Regions from separate parts of the Homo sapiens genome. Here region 2 is linked to region 1. The links are contacts of gene promoters, found by promoter capture Hi-C in blood cells and fetal thymus (Javierre and others, 2016). All regions are on one chromosome and are shown on one strand. Each heading gives the region's core, a stretch centred on a gene start or on the middle of the fragment in contact. The rest is flanking DNA. Distances are from core to core; before and after follow the strand shown. Region 1 holds the start of NDST2 (N-deacetylase and N-sulfotransferase 2). Region 2 holds the start of SEC24C (SEC24 homolog C, COPII component).

Region 1 (2,700 bases), core at 49-2,548:
TCTGATCTTTCTGTGAGGAAGGGACGGAAAGCCCCGGAAGTCTTCAGAAGTCCCATGCTCCAACAAAATATCAGATAAGGAACTCATGAGTCTGTTAATCTTCTCATCAATCAAACCCAATATCACAGCCAACAGCTTTAACGAACTTGCAGTCAGGTGGACACTATGGTGGGGGAGTTCAAAAGGAAAGAGCAATCCTCATGATAGGTAATCATTCTACCAGTTTCCAAACCCAGAAATTAGGGACTCCCTTACCCGTTGCTTGTGAAACATTACCTGCCCCTGACCTTCACCTCAACTTTGCCAGTCAGGAGATAAAAATGTAACCCCTGAGCAGGCCACACACTGGGTGCTGAGAAAAGCCATACAGCTGAGTCCACTCTACTTCTCCTTCCTAACTTAGCCTAAGTAGTTCTACAACCCTATTCCTAAACAGCTCAGAAGAGTCCCTGAGCTAGTCTGGAGAGACATGAGGTATTGAGTCCAGTTACACAAACAGAACAACTTGAGTAAGGACTGGATGACAGAGAGCAACAGGAGCTTAAGTCACATCCAACCAATGACAGAAGGAAAAAGGACAGTGTGATCAGAAAACAGTTTTAAGGAGGTCTAATTTTGGGGATCTCTTTTATTATTTTTAGATGGAGTCTTGCTCTGTCACCCAGGATACAGTGTGCTAGTGTGATCATAGCCTACTGCAGCTTCAAACTCCTGGGCTCAAGTGATCCTCCCACCTCAGCCTCCCATGTAGCTGGGACTACAGCTTTGCACCACCACACCCTACTAATTTTTAATTTTTTTTAGAGATGGGGGTCTTGTTACGTTGCCCAGGCTGGTCTTGAACTCCTGGGGTCAGACAGACAATCCTCCGGCCTCAGCCTCCTGAGTCTGTTCTTTTTCTTAAATCGACTGCTTCTGTAAGCTTTATTGTCACTATCCCCACTCAGCCTCCTTGTAAGGCTGGCAATCCCTCTCTACCACCCACCCCCAAACACACATCTCAGGGGTGATAAGGCAGAGCTGAGGTCCTTCAGAATTGACAGAGATGATTTAAAAACAGTTCAGGACAGGCGTGGTGCCTCACGCCTGTAATTCCAGCACTGTGAAAGGCCGAAGCGGGTGATCACTTGAGGTCAGGAGTTCGAGACCAGCCTGGCCAACATGGTGAAGCCCCGTCTCTACTAAAAATACAAAAATTAGATGGGCATGGTGGTGGGCGCCTGTAGTCCCAGCTACTCAGGAGGCTGAGGCAGGAGAATCACTTGAACGTGGGAGGCGGAAATTGCAGTGAGCTGAGATTGTGCCACTGTACTCCAGCCTGGGTGACAGAGCTAGACTCCAGCTCAAAAAAAAATAAAAATAAAAATAAAAATAAAACAGTTCAGCTTTGGCCTAGGTAAAACGACACGAGAAGACAGCTGGGGGAGAGGATCAAAATGGTGACGGGAAGGGGTGAATGCTAAGAATGTGATGCAACTTTAGAGAAAACATTGTAGTGAGGAGGTCACTGACGGGAAGTTGATACTCAGGGTGTATCATCCCGTATTTGAGAAATTACAACTTGCCAGCCATTCTTCTAAGAGCTTCACATATATTTAATCTTCACACCAGCCCTAAGAGGTAGGGAAAAGGTACATGCTCCATTATCCCCATTTCACATATGAGTAACTCAGAGAAGCTTAGAACCTTGCCCAGGATCACACAGCTCAGTTGGTGGGAGGGCTGGGATTCGACGTCAGGCCTGTCAAGCTCCAGAGCCGCGTTCTTAGCCGCTGCATTTTAGCTTCATACCTGGAAGAAGCAGCAAGGTTTAGGGAAGGGGCGCCGGGAGCGCCGCAGGCCGGGCCAGTGAACACTGAGGGCCAGCAGGGCTGGGCGGGGTGGGTGTGTGCGGGAGATCTCTGAGGACGGCGAAGCCAGACGGGGGCCGGGGCCGGGCCCGGGCTTGGGGAGGCCGGGACGGCCGGAGCAGCGGCGCGGAGGCTGCGGGCGCCGAGGGGGCCCGGGGCTGGCGGGTGGAGGGGCCCCGCCGAGAGGAGACGGGGGCACAGGTGGATGCGAAGAGCGCACCGGATGTGGGACACCAAAGGGGAAGGGGCCACAGGCGCGCGGCGGCGACTCCGGGGTGACATCGAGACAGCCTCTGGGCTGGGAGAGCCCTGCGGGAAGAAGGGAGCCCGCCCGGTCCGGAGGGGAGCGAGGCGGTTCTGAGGGAGGCCGGCGGAAAGGACCCGGGGCGCGGCGCACGCTGGGCCGCCCGGGACGACCCTGCGGGTGGTGATGGTGGCAACATCCAAGGGAGTCTGTTGGGGGGGCCTGAGCGCGACCGTGGGCGGGGGGGTCTCCTCAGGGGCGGCTCACCCGGAGGACTGGGCGGCGTCCCCGCTGTCCCCGGGCTCCGCCGCGTCCCGGGGCTGCCCGGCTTCCCTGCTTTCGGGGCCACGGGCCGCGTCGCGGCTGCTCCGCCATCTCCGAGCGAACGCTCTGCCGCAGCCTGGCCCAACCACCGCTCCCACCGGGGGAGGCGGCGCGCCGCCGCTGGTGGCACCCGCTCGGATCCACCGGCTCCGGCCCTAGCAGCCGCGCGACCTGGGTTCCGGGAAATCAAGCGGCCCTCCGCAGTGCCGGGCCGAGCCGCGGCCTCCGAGACGGCGGGCTCCGCGCCCCGCCCGCGGAAGCGCACCCCCTCCTCTCCGCGCG
Region 2 (2,700 bases), core at 181-2,680, 66 kb before region 1:
GTAATTCACGCAGAGCCAGCTGTGTGGGAGACCAGAGTTTTATTATTACACAAATTAGTCTCCCTGAGCATTTGAGGATCAGAGTTCTTAAAGATAATTTGGCGAGTAGGAGCTTGGGAAGCGGGGAGTGCTGATTGGTCAGGTTGAAGACGGAATCACAGGGAGTCAAAGTGAGGTTTTCTTGCTGTTTTCTGTTCCTGGGTGGAATGGCAGAACTGATTGAGCCAGGTTACTGGTCTAGGTAGTCAGCTGATCCAATGAGTGCAGGGTCTGCAAAACATCTCAAGCACTAATCTTAGGTTTTACAATAGTTATGTTATTCCTAAAAGCAATTTGGGGAGGTTCAGACTCTTGGAGCGAGAGGCTGCATGTCCCCTAAACTGTAATTTGTAATCTTGTAGCTAATTTGTTAGTCCTGTAAAGACAGACTGGTCCCCAGGCAAGAAGGGGGTCTTTTCGGGAAGGGGCTATTATCAATTTTGTTTCAAACCATAAACTGAATTCCTCCCCAAAGTTAGTTCCACCTACACCCAGGAATGAATAAGGACAGCTTAAAGGTTAGAAGCAAGATGGAGTCGGTTAAGTCTGATTTCTTCCACTATCATAATTTCCTCAGTTGTAATTTTGCAAAGGCAGTTTCAACAGCAGTGCTCGAAAAATTATGAAATCAACAAATAGTACTGAAAAGTTCAAATGAAGTCATATATGAAAAAGAAATCCTAGCACTGTTAGCTATAATTACTTAGCCATTAAATGGGGTACTAATAATTACTGCAGGAACTATCTTTTCCAACAGAGCGCAGAGATCTTTTGGCTCTGATAAAGCTCTGCACCTAAACAAAGGCGCTGTATAAAAATGGTTAATAACAATTGACCTTTACTGAGTGCTTACTATGATGCCAAGCGGCCTATGTGGCCTAATTTCATCCTCTGGGCATTATTATTTCCATTTTACAAGCTGTAGAGCCAGACCTCAGACCCCCACATGCAGGTTGACAACAGTTGGTGCCCTTTACCACCACCACACGTTCCGCAAATCTCATAACCAGCAAACGCCATGGGTGAGAGCAACCTAGCGGACGGAAATCAACGGGGTCAGGGGTCACCAGGAAGTGACTACAAGACTCTAGCTCAGAGGTCACTAATACGTCACAGGCAGAGTGAAGGGGCATTATTAAAGATAGTTTGACAAATTCTTTTTAATCTCATTTCTGTTGGTGAGGCCATAAAGTGACTGGAACATCTGAAAAAAAATGTCAGGAGGGAAATACATACGACTCAGCAGAGGCGCACAGGCGGCGGCCATGATGGGAAGATGAAAGAGGCGCATGCGCGGCATCCGGGTCCCCGAAATGCAGACGTGGCAGAAGAAGTGGCCCGGCCCTAAAGCGTGGAGGAGGAACTTCCGGGGGTGACGGGACGGCCCCCTCGGAACCGGAAGTGGAGCCTGGGAGCCTTGACGTTAGGAACGAAGTCTAACCTGGATCTGGAGCCGGGTGAGGAGTGGCATCGGGAGGTTGGCGGGTAGGAAAGCAAAGGAGAGGTCAGGGTATTACTGGCCAGATTGGGGTCCGGTTTCAGAAAGAAGGGAGGAGCCTGGGGGCGGGGCCTGGGTAGAGACCCTCACCTCACGCATCCACCATCCAGGAGCAGGTCCTAGACCATCCCTTCGTCTCCCGGCCCAGATTCCGGCTCCTGCTTCCTGCCCCGAGCCTGTTAAAAGGTGCAAGACGTTTGGTCTCTGTGCTTAACAGAGCAGCCCCCTCTCTTAACGTGGCCCTAGAAGCCGACTTGGCTTCTCGGTTTTGATCCTCGGCTCTCCGAGGCTCCATGGCTTGACTACTTTCAGAGTTCTAGGAAGCTTGCCCCGCCCCCTTGGGTTGTCACCCTCGACTATCCACCCAGAATGGAGTCGAGACTTCAGTCTGACTCCAAGCTCTTGAATGTGTTTGAGGGGATTATTTTCTGGAGAAGAAGCTCCTTTCTTTACCCCTCCCCCCGGCTTTGGAAACATAAAGGGAGAGGACATATTTTAAACTTAGTGTCAGTGACCTACCTCTGTAAGGTTTAGGGTTTGGAAGAACAGCTATTGAGATAACTTTGAGTTTAAAGAGTTTTAGACCAGGATCAGCTCCTTTTCTATAGTCAAGGTGGCCCTTCTAGCAAAGGGGGAGAGGTCCATTGTTCCCTTTGCAGCAACTCTGAGTGCTCCTGCTTTCTGGGCCCCTTCTGTCTACAGGATAATTGGAATGATACAGCTGTTGAAAGTAGATGTGATGAGATAGTTTTCTTGGAAGGACCCTGTTTAGAAAAGGCCCTCTAATTCATCCCTGTGTTGATGAGCAAGATTGTAATAATTTTGATGGTGGCTGAGATTCATAACAATCGTAAGGGGAGCAGAAACAGGAGAGTTGGAGAAGTGCATTGGAATTTAGAATATTCATAGTCTTCTGCTTGAGGGATGAGGTGAATGATTTTTTTCCATGAAATCTAACTCTAACTTTGCCCCTGATTCTTGAACTGTTTCCTCAGATTATGTGAAGAAGTTTTGGTGCCTGTTCTGCACTTGGTTTTAATCTGTTACCTTGCTAGAGTTTTCAGGTGTCCTTTATTTTTTATTTTTTTGAAAGGGCGTCTTGCTCTATTGCTCAGGCTGGAGTGCAGTGGCACGATCTCGGCTTATTGCAATCTCCGCCTCCC

The links. Contacts are between HindIII fragments. The CHiCAGO score rates a contact against its expected background, and 5 or more counts as called.
Region 2: the fragment with the promoter of SEC24C here is called in contact with a fragment that was not itself captured in region 1 in 6 of 17 cell types (fetal thymus, non-activated CD4 T cells, naive CD4 T cells and 3 more); the score reaches 7.3 in fetal thymus.

The regions. Positions count from the first base shown.
Region 1 is chr10:73,809,113-73,811,812 of GRCh38, forward strand. It overlaps NDST2 (N-deacetylase and N-sulfotransferase 2), which reads right to left and starts at 2,486. Exons shown (of 15, transcript NM_003635.4): 1 at 2,362-2,486; 2 at 1,687-1,791. NDST2-ZSWIM8-AS1 (NDST2-ZSWIM8-AS1 readthrough) reads right to left here. Exons shown (of 18, transcript NR_182658.1): 1 at 2,362-2,700; 2 at 1,687-1,791. RefSeq lists silencers at 1,921-1,990, 2,291-2,700. The HindIII fragment of the contact is 756 bases long and covers 921-1,676 here.
Region 2 is chr10:73,742,942-73,745,641 of GRCh38, forward strand. It overlaps SEC24C (SEC24 homolog C, COPII component), which reads left to right and starts at 1,431. Exons shown (of 23, transcript NM_198597.3): 1 at 1,431-1,496. LOC124902453 (a long non-coding RNA gene) reads right to left here and starts at 1,324. Exons shown (of 2, transcript XR_007062195.1): 1 at 1,276-1,324; 2 at 23-270. RefSeq lists enhancers at 773-1,972, 812-1,379, 1,050-1,479, 1,380-1,946. The HindIII fragment of the contact is 9,340 bases long and covers 1-1,859 here.